5 separate regions of the Homo sapiens genome follow, and all the other regions are linked to region 2. Evidence: promoter capture Hi-C in 16 types of primary human blood cells and fetal thymus (Javierre and others, 2016). All regions are on one chromosome and are shown on one strand. Each heading gives the region's core, a stretch centred on a gene start or on the middle of the fragment in contact. The rest is flanking DNA. Distances are from core to core; before and after follow the strand shown.

Region 1 (2,700 bases), core at 53-2,552, 1.3 Mb before region 2:
AAGGAGACCAGAACAACTTAACAACGTGTCTCCTGGATTTTACTTTGAAGCCTATTGTTATAATTTCTGTTGAATAAAGTGTTTGGAGGAAATTCCTTGTACATGTGTATTTATGATGTATGTTTTTAGGGTGAAGTAAGGGAAATAATGCGGATCTCATTTAATGGCAAATATCTTCTGTATTGATACATTGAGAAAAATGTTGGCAGGTTTATTTCTAAGGAAAAGTTAAACAGAATATTCAGACTATTGCATTTAAAAATCTGGGTGGGGCCGGGCGCCGTGGCTCACACCTGTAATCCCAGTGCCTTGGGAGGCAGAGGCAGGTGGATCACTTGAGGTCAGGAGTTTGAGACCAGCCTGGCCAACAGGGTGAAGCCCCATCTCTACCAAAAATACAGAAAAAAAAAATCAGGCGGGCGTGGTGGTGGGGGCCTGTAGTCCCAGCTACTCGGGAGGCTGGGGCAGGAGAATCGCATGAACCCAGGAGGTGGAGGTTGCAGTGAGCCGAGATCACGCCACTACACTCCAGGCTGGGTGACAGAGGGAGACTCCATCTCACACATACACTAAATAAATAAATAAATAAATAAAATCTGGGTGGAAAACGATTGAAGTATGAGAGAAAATGATCAAATACCAACCTGAATACTGCTGAAATATTTTAAAATGTTTTTTAAAAGCTTGGTTTGTGTAAAAGTACCCAAATGCATATTAAAATTAATGTTAAAAGTACAAGCACTAATAAGGCCTGAATCTGAAGCAAGAGAATGCCTGAAAATCTTATGAAATCATTTTTTAAAAAGAGCTTCATTGATATGTAATCAATATATAAAATATTGCATATATTTAATGTATACATCTTCATGAGTTTGAACATAGATGATGCCATCATCAAAATCAAGGTACTAAATATACTCATCATCTTCAACCATTTCCTTGTGTTGTTTTGTGGTTTTTGTTGTTTCCTGGTACAAGCTCTTTAAATGAGCTCTATCCTTTGAGCATATTTCAAGGTGTATAATACTTCATTGTCAACTATAGGTACTGTGGTGTACAGCAGATCCCCAGAATGTGTTCTAGAACTCATTTTCTTAATAATGTGAATAATACCAATATGGCTAAGTGCTTACCATGTGCCAGTAATGCCCAACCACTTTACGTAGAACATCTCATTTAATCTTCCTAACAACTGTTACAAAGTAGATACAAGCCCTGATTTAAAAATGAGGAAAGTGAGTCCCTGAGAAGTTAAGTAATTTGCCAAGGGCATCTGGATATTAGGTGGTGATGTTGGTTTTAGAAACCAGGGATGCTGGCTCCATTACACTGTGTTCTTAAGTAGAAAAGATTTAATATGGGAGAGGAGAGTCAGATGTATAGGTAGGATGAATTGAAGTGAGAATTACTTCTTGGGTTATCTATAGATGTTAACCCTCAAGAAGAAAAAAATAAAACAAACACAGGCCGGGTGTGCTGGCTCACACCTGTAATCCCAGCACTTTGCAAGGCCGAAGTCAGAAGATTCCTTGAGCCCAGGAGTTCAAGACCAGCCTGGGAAGCATAGTGAGACCCCATCTCTACAAAAAATTTAAAAATTAGCCAGGTTTGATTGTGCAGGCCTGTAGTTCCAGCTACTTGGGAGGCTGAGGTAGGAGGATTGCTTGAGCCTGGGAGGTTGAGGCTACAGTGAGTTGTGATTACACCACTGCACTCTGGCTTGGGCAACAGAGTGACACCCTGCCTCAAAAAAAATTAATAAAGGAAAAAAAATTAAGTAAACAAACACACAAAAAAATAAACCAAACCTTTGTTGGGACTGTTGGGAAGAGGAGGTTCCAATATGATGAAGCCAAGAACTTAGATTGGAGAAAACTTTGCCAAAATTTGGCTGCTTCTTTTTTTTCTAAAAGCAAACCTCTTAAGCTTTATTAGTTTTTTCAGCTTTATTGAGGTATAACTGACACATAAAAATTGTATTATTCAAGGTATACAATGTGATATTTTGATATCACAAAATGAAATAATTACCACAGTCAAACTGCTAATTAACAAATCCATCACCTCACACAGTTACCTTTTCCCCCCTGTGGAGAGAATACTTAAGATCTATTCTAGCAAATTTCAAATATGCTTTATTTTTAACTGTAGTCATCAAGCTGTACATTAGATCTCTGAAACTAATTCATCTTGAAACTGCAAGTTTGTACCCTTTGACAAACCTCTCCCCATTTTCCCCACTCCTTGACCCCCGGTAACCACTCTTCTAGTCCGTTTCTACTGAGTTTTACTTTTAAAAATTCCATATGTGAGATAATATGGTATTTGTCTTTCTTTGTTGGGCTTATTTCACTTTGTCCTCTAGGTCATCCATGTTTTTGCAAATGAAAGAATTTTCTTCTTTGTCCAGGCTAAATGATATTACATATATCTTTATACAGGCATACCTCGTTTAATTGCAATTCACTTTATTGCACTTCTCAGATATTACATGTTTTAAACAAATTTAAGGTTTGTGATAACCCTGCCTGGGGCAAGTCTGTCAGTGCCATTTTTTCCGATAGCCTGTGCTCACTTTGTGTCCCTGTGTCACTTTTTGGTAACTCTCACAATGTTTCAAACTGTTGTATCTGTTATGGTGATCTATGATCAGTATTCTTTGATGTTACTATTATAATTGCTTTGGGGCACCATGAATCA
Region 2 (2,700 bases), core at 37-2,536:
AACTGTGCTTGGGGCTGTAAATGTTCATTGAGAAGCCTCCAACCTAGCCAGGGCCTGGCCTCATTGTCCTAAGTCTTCAGATGCACTCAGCCTCCAATGGTGCTGTATTTTACCAGTTAAACACGTCTTCAAAGTTTACTACGAAACAATGTGGCTCCTAGCTTGCCAAAAGTTTAACTGCAGGATTCAGTGGATTTTATCTGGCAGAGTAGCTGCCGTGACTCTTGACAATATTTGCCAGCAAAAGGCAGTCCTCAAACCTTGCAACCAGGGCAATCCCAAGGCCCAACGTGTCACTGAAGGAGTTCTTCTGGGAAAGGTCCCTCTTTCTCTTCAATCGCCTCCCGCAAATCCCCAGCTTCCAGAATCCAATTCAAGGCAGTCTGGCATTTCAGGAGACAGCAGTAAAAAACTTTTGATGGGATAACCCAGGACATAAATATTCCTGGCTGAACCTACTTTTGATTCTTAAATATCTGAAGGAGCTTGGGTTTAAGGAAGATAAAGGGAGAGAACCAATGAATAGGGAAAAATAAAATAAGTAGCATACCATGACCAAGCCAAACCAAGCTTGATATTTCCACATTATATTGGCAAATGGATGCTTTCACATATCACTTGTTCTGTCTTTCCTGGTGACCACAAAAAAAAAAAAAAAAAAAAAAAAATCTGGCTTCAAAAATCCTAACCCCAGACCACTGCATTGTGTCAGTGGAATGCAATCTAAATTGCCAGTCAGAAAGTCCAACCTTATATGTACCAACCAACACGCACACAAGCACCTCCAAGCCAAAAGTTGTAACGCCTGAACCCGTGCGTTTATCAATTTCATCATCCCCATACCCCTGCCGGGTTCCTGGCGCTGGGTAAACCGACAGCATCATGTTGCCATCGATGCGTCTTACAAGATGGTTTTGGGCAAATCCCCTAAAGTAGGCAGAAGCAAAAACTAGGTTCCTCTGCCCGGGCACCTCCTCCTCCAGGCTGGCCCCCGGCTCCCGGGTGCCCCTTACCTGCAGGCGCTCCGTGGCCGGCTGCCACATCTTCCAGCCCTGGGTTTTGGCAGAGGAGACGCTGGCGAGACTGTCGATCGCGCCGGGGGGCGAGGGGCTGGGGTCCCGCTTTACATCTGGGGTCGGTGTCCGCGGGATGTGCGTCCTGGCGCTGGCCACCGCCGCCGGGTGGGCGTAGGGGGCTGCGAGCAGGAGGAGGCGCGGCGCTCAGCTGCCGGCAACTTGTGGGCACGGCCGCGCGCCGGCTGTCCTGGCGCAGCTGCGAGAGGACTGCGCAGCTCCGCCCGGGCCCGGCGAGCGCGCGGCGGCGGCGGGGGCGGCCGCTCCCTCCTCCCCCGCCGCCGCCGCCCGGACCTGCGCGCTCTGAGCATGCCCGGGGCGGGCGCCCAGGGGCCGCGCGGGGCGGGAGTGCAGCGCGGCCGACTCTAAATCCTAGTGAGGGGTGAATGGGGAGGCTAGAACAGCCGGCCCTTCCCTGCAGGAAGCCCCCATTGGGTTGGGGTCTGGGAAAAGGGACAGACTGGCTGAGGGGGGAAGGGCCTGGAGCCGGGGGTGGTGGGGGCAGCGGGGATGTCGGGGGTGGCGGGGGTGGGGGAAATTCCTAAAATAAGGAAACCGTAGCCCCGGGGGTCCCGGGTTTCCATATAACAGGCATCTCTGAAGTGCCTGTGCTGTGCCTGGCGCTGTGCTAGGGAGACACTTCCATTCATTCTTCCCACTCCAGTTAACTGAGCATCTATTAGGCTCCAGCCCCTATGCTGGGTTCTGAGGATGCAGCGACGCAGAATAGAAGACAAGAGAATGTTCCTTCTCTCTGGAGCTTACCTTCTGCTTTGGAGAGAGAGTCGTGACTGAGCAAACACATCAACAAGCCGGTGCTATATCGGGTGGTGATAAAACAGGGCAGATGTGGGAAGAAGGGGAGAGGAGAGCTTCTTAGACAAGGGCCCTGGGGAATGCCTGGAGTAAGACCTGAGAGATGAGAGGGATTGGCCACGAAGAGGCCATGCTTCATGATGGGGAGAGGACTCGACTCCTAACCTATACAGGGGTGAGGAGGGCCATGCAGACTCCCGAATCACTAACTCATCCTGAGATCTGCCAGGTGCAGCAGGAGGCTCTCAGAACCCAAGGGAAAGCCGCTCTGGGCTCGCAGGCCTGGAGGCTCCCCGGCTAGTGCCGGCCACCATGAGATGACTTCCTGTCCTAAACAGGCCAGCCCTTCCCATTCTCTTGACAACTCGGCAAAATAACTATTAATATTTTCACCATGTGGATCAAACAAATGAGGCTTATAAGGTTTAGGTCACTTGTCCAGGTCACACAGCCAGTGAGTGGCTTAGAGAGTGCACAGTCAGATGACTTCAGGGCAGGAGATGTGGCCCTGCGCCTCTAACTGACCATGGAAACCCAGTGGAAAGAGCATCCGTCTAGGGCTGGGGGTTAAAGGCACTTGGCAAGTCAGGGATACTAAGCTGATTCTCGAGCTGATGAAGAGTGGGAGAGGAGAACATGGTGGGAAGAACTCAGGACATAGAATGACCAAAGAGAGGAGCAGAGAGAACACAATGTTTGTGGGGAGCCCTAGGCTCCTACAAGGCAGGGTCCTGAGAGCAGAGGGGTGTGAAAGAGAGGCATTTCATACTGAGACAGCTGCACAGCTTGGGCCGTGAGCTACTCATGCAAT
Region 3 (2,700 bases), core at 189-2,688, 1.4 Mb before region 2:
GGGCCAGATAAGTGATCTTTGATCTACTTCAGCTCTAAATGCCTAGGATTCTCTCTTTTTTTTTTTTTGAGATGGAGTCTAGCTCTGTCACCCAGGCTGTAGTGCAGTGGCATGATCTTGGCTCACTGCAAGCTCCGCCTCCTGGGTTCATGCCATTCTCCTGCCTCAGCCTCCTGAGTAGCTGGGACTACAGGCGCCCGCCAGTACGCCAGGCTAATTAATTTTTTTGTATTTTTAGTAGAGACGGGGTTTCACCGTGTTAGCCAGGATGGTCTTGATCTCCTGACCTCGTGATCCACCCGCCTTGGCCTCCCAAAGTGCTGGGATGACAGGCGTGAGCCACTGTGCCCGGCCAAGCCTAGGATTCTTAGGCTCACGTAATTCTCTTGACTCATGTTTGCGACTATTGCCTTAATGCTTATCTTATAATGAGGTCATATTACTTAGCATGCTTGACATTTAATTTCTGAATTCCAGTCTTTGGTGAGCCAAATCATATGCAAGTTTCCAAGATACTACTGAATAGCAGGTGGGTGTTTCAATAATAGCATTATCAGATAGGAAAAATTATTCCACTGAATCATTCCCGTGCTACCTTTATCCCTTCTGCATATAGAGCAGTTTTGTTTTGCCTCCTAATCCTCTAATTTTCGCCCTCCCACTTTCTTTTGAATAACGTATAGGTCAGGGGCATTGTCTTGCTGCTATCTACTGAATTATCCCTCTCCCTACCTACATTCCCAAAGGCTAAATGTACATGCCAGTGACATGGCTAACCAAACATGGGACATTCCTTTTCATCTTGGTCACATTTATTAATTCATAAGCTCTTTGCTTTGGGGAGAGTGGGTGTTGACTATGTGCTTTTCAGCTAACTCAGTTATGACAATTTTTGTATTTCATTTATTGTGTGAAGTCCATAGTTCTCAGACCAGGAGAAGGAATTAAGTCAACATTAACTAAACTAGTTAACATTCTGAGCATTTTAAAGGTTTCTGTTGATTGAATATATAATCTAAGTAAAGAATACTAATATCATTTGAAGCATGCCCTTTTAATATACTGAAAAATTTGAGGAATAGAGGCTTCTTACCTAAGTGTTTTGGGAATTATATTTATTGAATAATGCACAATCAAGGGAAAATCAAGATTATTAAGATACTGTGGGAAACAGTCACTGAAGAAAAGCATGTATTTCTGGCAGCATCTTTGTTTATTTATTTTTATTTTTGAGACATAGTTTTGCTCTGTCAGCCAGGCTGGAGTACAGTGGCACAATCTTGGCTTACTGCAACCTCTGCCTCTGTCTCCCGAGTAGCTGAGATTACAGGCATGTGCCATCACACCCAACTAATTTTAGTATTTTTAGTAGATATGTGGTTTTACCATGTTGGCCAGGCTGGTCTCAAACTTCTGAACTCAAGTGAGGCACTTGCCTTGGCCTCCAAAAGTGCTGGGATTATAGGCGTGAGCCACTGCTCCCGGACTCTTTGTTTTCTGCTTTTATTCTTCATGGCACATATCACAGCCTTTTGCTCATATTGGAGCTCAGTAATCATGAGAGGGATGAACATATTGCCTAGATCAATGTTACACAACCTTTTTGGCACCAGGGACTGGTTTCATGGAAGACAATTTTTCCACAGACCAGGGGGATGGTTTTGGGATGAAACTGTTCCACCTGTGATCATCAGGCATTAGTTAGATTTGCGTAAAGAGTGTGCAGCCTAGATCCCTTGTATGCACAGTTCACCATAGGGTTCCTGCTGCTATGGAAATCTAATGCTGCTGCTGCTGATCTGACAGGAGGCTGAATGAGCTCAGGCAGTAATGCTCACTTGCCCGCCACTCACCTCCTGCTGTGTGGCCTGGGCCCTAACGGCCACAGACTGGTACTGGTCCAGGGCCCAGTGGGGTCGGGGGACCCCTGGCCTAGAGGTTTTGTCACAGCGAAGCAGTCAAACGTACATGTTTCAATTTTGTAGTGTATTCTCCAGATCCATTTGTACAGCATCCCCACCAATTTTTAGTAGTCAGCTTGAAGACTTCGAACCTTTTTACTTTATTACAAACAAGTAGTGAATAAAGAAAGCAGACTTTTGTTAACTTATTTGCTAAAATGTTAAAAATGCATTTCCTTAGGGTATTAGATCATACTCTGTGGACTGCCAAGTGCTAATTCTTTCCAACCTTTCTCTGAGTTACAGATTATTATTTTATTGCTTATTCATTGTGTACATCATTTATTTACTCAAGCATTTATTTCCTCAATAATAAATAGCACATAGTAAATACCCTCATATATAATGCAAAAAATCTAAAATTATAGTACAGAAAGAAACACTCCCTTGATGATAGTGACACCTTGCATTGATACAGAACTTGTATGTTTAAAGTATGTATCTTTCTTGAATTTTCAAATAGCTTTTTAGGGATCTTGATCTTCAAGGGTTTATATTCTGATAATGTTGATCAACTGGGCATGGTGGTGCCTGCCTTTAATCCCAGCACTTTGAGAGGCTGAGGCAGGAGGATGGCTTGAGCCCAGGAGTTGAAGACCAGCCTGAGAAACATAGTGAAATCTTGTTTCTACAAAAAATTAAAAAATTAGCTGGGCATAGCGGCATGGGCCTATAGTCCTAGCTACTCAAGAAAATGAGGCAGAAGAATGGCATGGGTTCCTAGGAGTTCGAGACTACA
Region 4 (2,700 bases), core at 92-2,591, 1.4 Mb before region 2:
TGGATAAATATACATTTCTAGTCTGCTTTAGGATATATGTGTTGGGTTGTGAGATCTCTTACACTTTGGGAAATTGAGCTTGTACTGTAAATGATAATCCAATTGGGTGAACATCTTGAAGAGCTGGTGTAAAAGACAGTTGTAAGCCAGGGTTAAAAGAAAGGTTTTAGTTCCAAGATCAAAGGCCAAACAGGGTAATCTACTCTTGCTTGTTGGTTGTTGATGTTAGCTCTGCCCCGCAGTCAATATGAGAAGCCTCTTAGTTGAAAGTGACTGAAGTCTTTGTATTTCCTTTCTAAACCCTCTTACAACTGGAATAATATAGGCATTATTTCCTTAAGAGGACAAGCACCGTCTAAATTCTCAAAACCTTATTAACCATATTTTTAATGGGATTTATCTTTTTTCATTTCTCTTTTATATTCAATGTTATTCTTTTCCATATACTTATTAACATAATTTTTCTATGTTTACACAGTTCATACTATACATTATTTATTTTAATTTGTAAGTAATTTTCTAAACTAAACCTTTTGCTACATTCATTAAACTCATTTTAAAAATTATTATAATCCCAAACAAATATACCTATAACTTTAATATAAAACCTTTAAAATTAAATGTGTAAATCGATACCACTCAAAAATTAGACTTTTATTTTATTATCCACTGAAACAAATTTAAGATTGCTTATAGCTTTAGAAGTGAAGTAAATTTTTTACTCATGTATTAATATCTCATCTTAGTTCAGTTTATTATATAATGTGTCTTTTTTTAAATAATCTACATTTCTTTTAAATCTTAGTGACAAAATCGCCACTGGGTCCTTTGATAAAACTTGTAAACTCTGGAGTGTGGAAACAGGAAAATGTTACCATACCTTCAGGGGTCATACAGCAGAAATAGTGAGTATATTTAACAATTTATTATTATTTTATGTATATATATATATTATTTTCTTTGAGATGGAGTCTCACTCTGTCACCCAGGCTGGAGTGCAGTGGCACAATCTTGGCTCACTGCAAGCTCCGCCTCCTGGGTTCATGCCATTCTCCTGCCTCAGCCTCCCGAGTAGCTGGGACTACGGGCGCCCGCCACCACGCCCCGCTAATTTTTTGTATTTTTAGTAGAGATGGGGTTTCACTGTATTAGCCAGGATGGTCTCAATCTCTTGACCTCGTGATCCACCCGCCTCGGCCTCCCAAAGTGCTGGGATTACAGGCGGGACCCACTGCACCTGGCCTTATTATTATATTTTATGTTGCTGTTTCTTTTTAGGATTCTATTATAAAAGTAGTGGGGCTACTTTTATAATTAATTTTCAAATTCTACCCCATGTTTTTAGTCTGCCTATATTTATATGGTGGTACCAATACAATTTAAAAATTACTCTAGTTAATATCTTGCAGATTCTGTAAAGAACTGTATCCTACATTGACTAAGTAGACACGTAATATGATAAATTTATAAATATAATAACCAATCTTACTTTTTAATTGGCTTTTCTTTAAAGTACTGACTCAATGAGGGTCAATTAAGTTATGAAAACAGTTTTTAAAATAATTTTTAAACTACTATGTGAAATATTTAAATATTTAGGCTGATTGTTTTCTGTATATCATTAGAGCTCAAATTTGCCTAAATAGTCTGATACTCGAAACAGCTTTCACTATTGGGAAGCCCTTGTCCTTGACCAATTCTGAGACATATCTGATAACAATTAGTGCAATAATTGGCATTCCATAAGAACAGATGATAGCTCTTAAAAATAAACAGGCTGCTGCTCCTAATGATTAGTAATACCTTAAATCTTTTTAATCAAAGATTTAAATAAGGAAAAATTGATCTGATTTTAACAAATCCCCAAGTTATGTTTTGGTCTGTTAATGGGGATCACACCTTTCCCTCCATTTCTGGCCTTCATTAGGTAGAATGATTCTTTAGATATTTAACTCACTAACTTTGTTGTACTTTGAAGTTACTCTTAAGTGGATAATACCAAAAGAGAATCCACAAATAGAAGGTACTCACTTTACCAATGCAGTAGTAGTATAAAAATAATAGAGACTTTTGAGGGTCAAAGAGAGAAAAGGCTAAAGCAGGAAACAAAATATAACCACCTCTCCTGTAACTGTCAGTAGGGAAATATAGCTCAGTACTTTTTGAATTGAACAGAGACATAAAAAGAATGTGCTAATAACTATTAGTAGATGAAGAGAGGAAATTGATAACAAAGAGTGACAGGTCTTTTAACCTCAATATTCACTGGAAAAAAAGATACCTGCTGTGAACCAGAAAGAGCAAACAAGAACATACAGGGGTGGAGGGAGGAAAAGCAAGCCACAGTGGCGACAGCTTTTGTGAATAGTCGGTGACAGCCGATCTGCCAGCAGTGTTCAAGTGCTAGCACCCACACCCACCCCTGGAACTTAGGAACAAGATACCTAGAACAGACTGTGAAATGCTTGGAAATATGTCTTGAGGATAAGGAAAGTACCTGGAGATGGGAAAGGGTCCTGTATTCTGCTTATTTATGTACACCTTAAAACAGGAACAAAAACAAGCTGCTTATTTTAGAAGTAAAATTTATTTACACTCATCCTAAAAATTCATGGTATATTCATCCATAAAGAACTCATGCTATGTTGAAGTTACTTTGCTAGTGACTGGAAATACTGCAGTGAAACATAACTGACCCTT
Region 5 (2,700 bases), core at 29-2,528, 1.2 Mb before region 2:
ATACACATTTGCACAGAGAAAATATGAAAAAAGAAAAGGTAGAAAGTCATGTTTGTAATCTGAACAGCTCAATTATTTTAGAATAGATAAAAGATAATTTATATACTTAGAATCATGGTGAATAAGTGATAGTGAACTTAATTTAAAAATACAAATAGTTTATCTAAACCAAACATCTAACATTCATCTCTCATATGTTTGACAACCAAACTACTAAATAACTCCAAACTTAACCTCTCCAAGAAGCCTCAGGTATAATTGAGCAAACACTTTGTACATCTTTAATAATTAAGCATGCTGCAATCTCATTGGTATAGGTAAAATTTATTAAAAATCCCAACAACTCAAAGCAATGACTAAAGGCACAACTTGAGTGACTCTACATAGGGAAGTAGAAAAATATTTAGAGGATTTAGTCCTAAAATATAGTTGCAAATGCAGGAGAGGTGCTTCTTTTTTTAACGGAATTATCCAGATTGAATATCTATATTAATAAAAGACATCAAGTGGTTCTTAGTTTCACGGGTACTCTAAGAACCACTCTATTTGGCCTGCTCCAGGTCTGCATATGAAAACTTTAGCCCAAGGCATGTATCTGAATTACTATCCCTATAGATTGGATGCTTTAGGAACTCATTAATTTAAATCTTCTAACAGACTGCCAAGTGTTGAGAGGTAACTCACTTTTCAAAAAAAATGACCATTAAATTCAAGCCTTTGAAAAATGGAATTCTGCAAACTATAGTTGACACATAATGAATAAATACATAGAAAAAGTAATTGGAGAAAAACAAAACAAAATACAAGAGGGAACATCTATTACAGTGAGTAGGATAACAACTAGTTTTTCATATTTGTTTCCTTTGACAATGATGCTAATTAGTTACTAAAATAGAATCTGGAGAGTGAACAGGCAATCTACAGAATGGGAGAAAATTTTGGCAACCTACTTATCTGACAAAGGGCTAATATCCAAAATCTACAATGAACTCAAACAAATTTACAAGAAAATAACAAACAACCCCATCAAAAAGTGGGCAAAGGATATGAACAGACACTTCTCAAAAGAAGACATTTATGCAGCCAAAAAACACATGAAAAAATGCTCATCATCACTGGCCATCAGAGAAATGCAAATCAAAACCACGATGAGATACCATCTCACACCAGTTAGAATGGCAATCATTAAAAAGTCAGGAAACAACAGGTGCTGGAGAGGATGTGGAGAAATAGGAACACTTTTACACTGTTGGTGGGACTGTAAACTAGTTCAACCATTGTGGAAGGCAGTGTGGCGATTCCTCAGGGATCTAGAACTAGAAATACCATTTGACCCAGCCATCCCATTACTGGGTATATACCCAAAGGATTATAAATCATGCTGCTATAAAGACACATGCACACGTATGTTTATTGCAGCACTATTCACTATAGCAAAGACTTGGAACCAACACAAATGTCCAACAATGATAGACTGGATTAAGAAAATGTGGCACATGTACACCATGGAATACTATGCAGCCATAAAAAATGAAGAGTTCATGTCCTTTGTAGGGACATGGATGAAGCTGGAAACCATCATTCTCAGCAAACTATCGCAAGGACAAAAAACCAAACACCACATGTTCTCACTCATAGGTGGGAATTGAACAATGAGAACACATGGACACACGAAGGGGAACATCACACAGCGGGGACTGTTGCGGGATTGGGGGAGCGGGGAGGGATAGCATTAGGAGATATACCTAATGCTAAATGACGAGTTAATGGGTGCAGCACACCAGCATGGCACATATATACATATGTAACAAACCTGCACATTGTGCACACGTACCCTAAAACTTAAAGTATAATAATAATAAAAAAAAGAAAAAAAATAGAATCTGGAGGACATTATGCTAGATGAAATAAGCCAGGCACGAAAAGATAAGTACTGTATTAACTCATTTATACGTGAAATCTAAAAAAGCCAAACTCACAGAAGCAGAGAGTAGAATGGTGATTGCATGGGGCTGGGGGATGAGAAAAATGGGGAGAAATTGGTCAAAGGGAATAAACTTTCAGTTTTAAGATGAATCAGTTCTGGAGATCTAATGTACAGCATGGTGACTATACTTAATTGTACTATATTGTTTACTTGAATTTTGATAAAGAGCAGATTTTAACTGCCTTCATCCCACCCCCTACACACACACACACATACGGTAATTATGGGTGGTGATGGCTGTGATAATTAGATTACAGTAATCAGTACACAATGTATACATAGGTCAAATCAAGGTGTATACCCTGAATATATGCAATTTTTGTTTGTTCATTAAATATTTCAAAGTAAACTAAAACAATAAAAATCCGTGTTTCAAAACATTTTCTGCATGCTGAATACTGTTGTTATTCTTTTTTTTTTTTTTTTTTTTTGGTCTCTGTTGGTAAAAACGATGTATATCCTGATTTCTGTGTTCTTCATCTAATTTACTCCCTTGAACTTCACTTGTTTTAGGCAATGACTTTTAGGAAAATGGCCTTTACGATGCAAGCAGTAGCTTAAGCGAGCTCAGGGTGCTAAGTTGTGGTGAATAAATTTTGCACTTAAATTCCAGTTGTGGAACCAAGTATTAAAAATAAATAGGTGATTCAAAAAGCTTGCCAACACTTCATATTCTTTAATGCTACCAAAAATCATTGACAGCTACAGGATAG

Evidence for each region. The method cuts DNA at HindIII sites, captures the fragments that hold promoters and counts their contacts. A CHiCAGO score of 5 or more calls a contact.
Region 1: a fragment that was not itself captured here is called in contact with the fragment with the promoter of PID1 in region 2 in 2 of 17 cell types (M2 macrophages and endothelial precursors); the score reaches 8.9 in M2 macrophages.
Region 3: a fragment that was not itself captured here is called in contact with the fragment with the promoter of PID1 in region 2 in 1 of 17 cell types (M2 macrophages); the score reaches 17.4 in M2 macrophages.
Region 4: a contact is called between a fragment that was not itself captured here and the fragment with the promoter of PID1 in region 2, in 5 of 17 cell types (M2 macrophages, endothelial precursors, M0 macrophages and 2 more). The highest score is 17.8, in M2 macrophages.
Region 5: a fragment that was not itself captured here is called in contact with the fragment with the promoter of PID1 in region 2 in 1 of 17 cell types (endothelial precursors); the score reaches 9.6 in endothelial precursors.

The regions. Positions count from the first base shown.
Region 1 is chr2:227,924,253-227,926,952 of GRCh38, forward strand. It overlaps DAW1 (dynein assembly factor with WD repeats 1), which reads left to right. Exons shown (of 13, transcript NM_178821.3): 13 at 1-92. Among named protein-coding and RNA genes, the nearest start is that of DAW1, 54 kb to the left of the region's middle. The HindIII fragment of the contact is 1,243 bases long and covers 682-1,924 here.
Region 2 is chr2:229,270,001-229,272,700 of GRCh38, forward strand. PID1 (phosphotyrosine interaction domain containing 1) reads right to left here and starts at 1,287. Exons shown (of 3, transcript NM_001100818.2): 1 at 1,014-1,287. The coding sequence starts at 1,043. The HindIII fragment of the contact is 3,085 bases long and covers 569-2,700 here.
Region 3 is chr2:227,875,966-227,878,665 of GRCh38, forward strand. The region is part of intron 1 of DAW1 (dynein assembly factor with WD repeats 1); the gene reads left to right. Among named protein-coding and RNA genes, the nearest start is that of DAW1, 5.7 kb to the left of the region's middle. The HindIII fragment of the contact is 4,250 bases long and covers 1-2,700 here.
Region 4 is chr2:227,897,377-227,900,076 of GRCh38, forward strand. DAW1 (dynein assembly factor with WD repeats 1) reads left to right here. Exons shown (of 13, transcript NM_178821.3): 6 at 806-905. Among named protein-coding and RNA genes, the nearest start is that of DAW1, 27 kb to the left of the region's middle. The HindIII fragment of the contact is 2,988 bases long and covers 1-2,700 here.
Region 5 is chr2:228,043,895-228,046,594 of GRCh38, forward strand. All of the region lies in intron 3 of SPHKAP (SPHK1 interactor, AKAP domain containing), which reads right to left. Among named protein-coding and RNA genes, the nearest start is that of SPHKAP, 140 kb to the right of the region's middle. The HindIII fragment of the contact is 2,724 bases long and covers 1-2,640 here.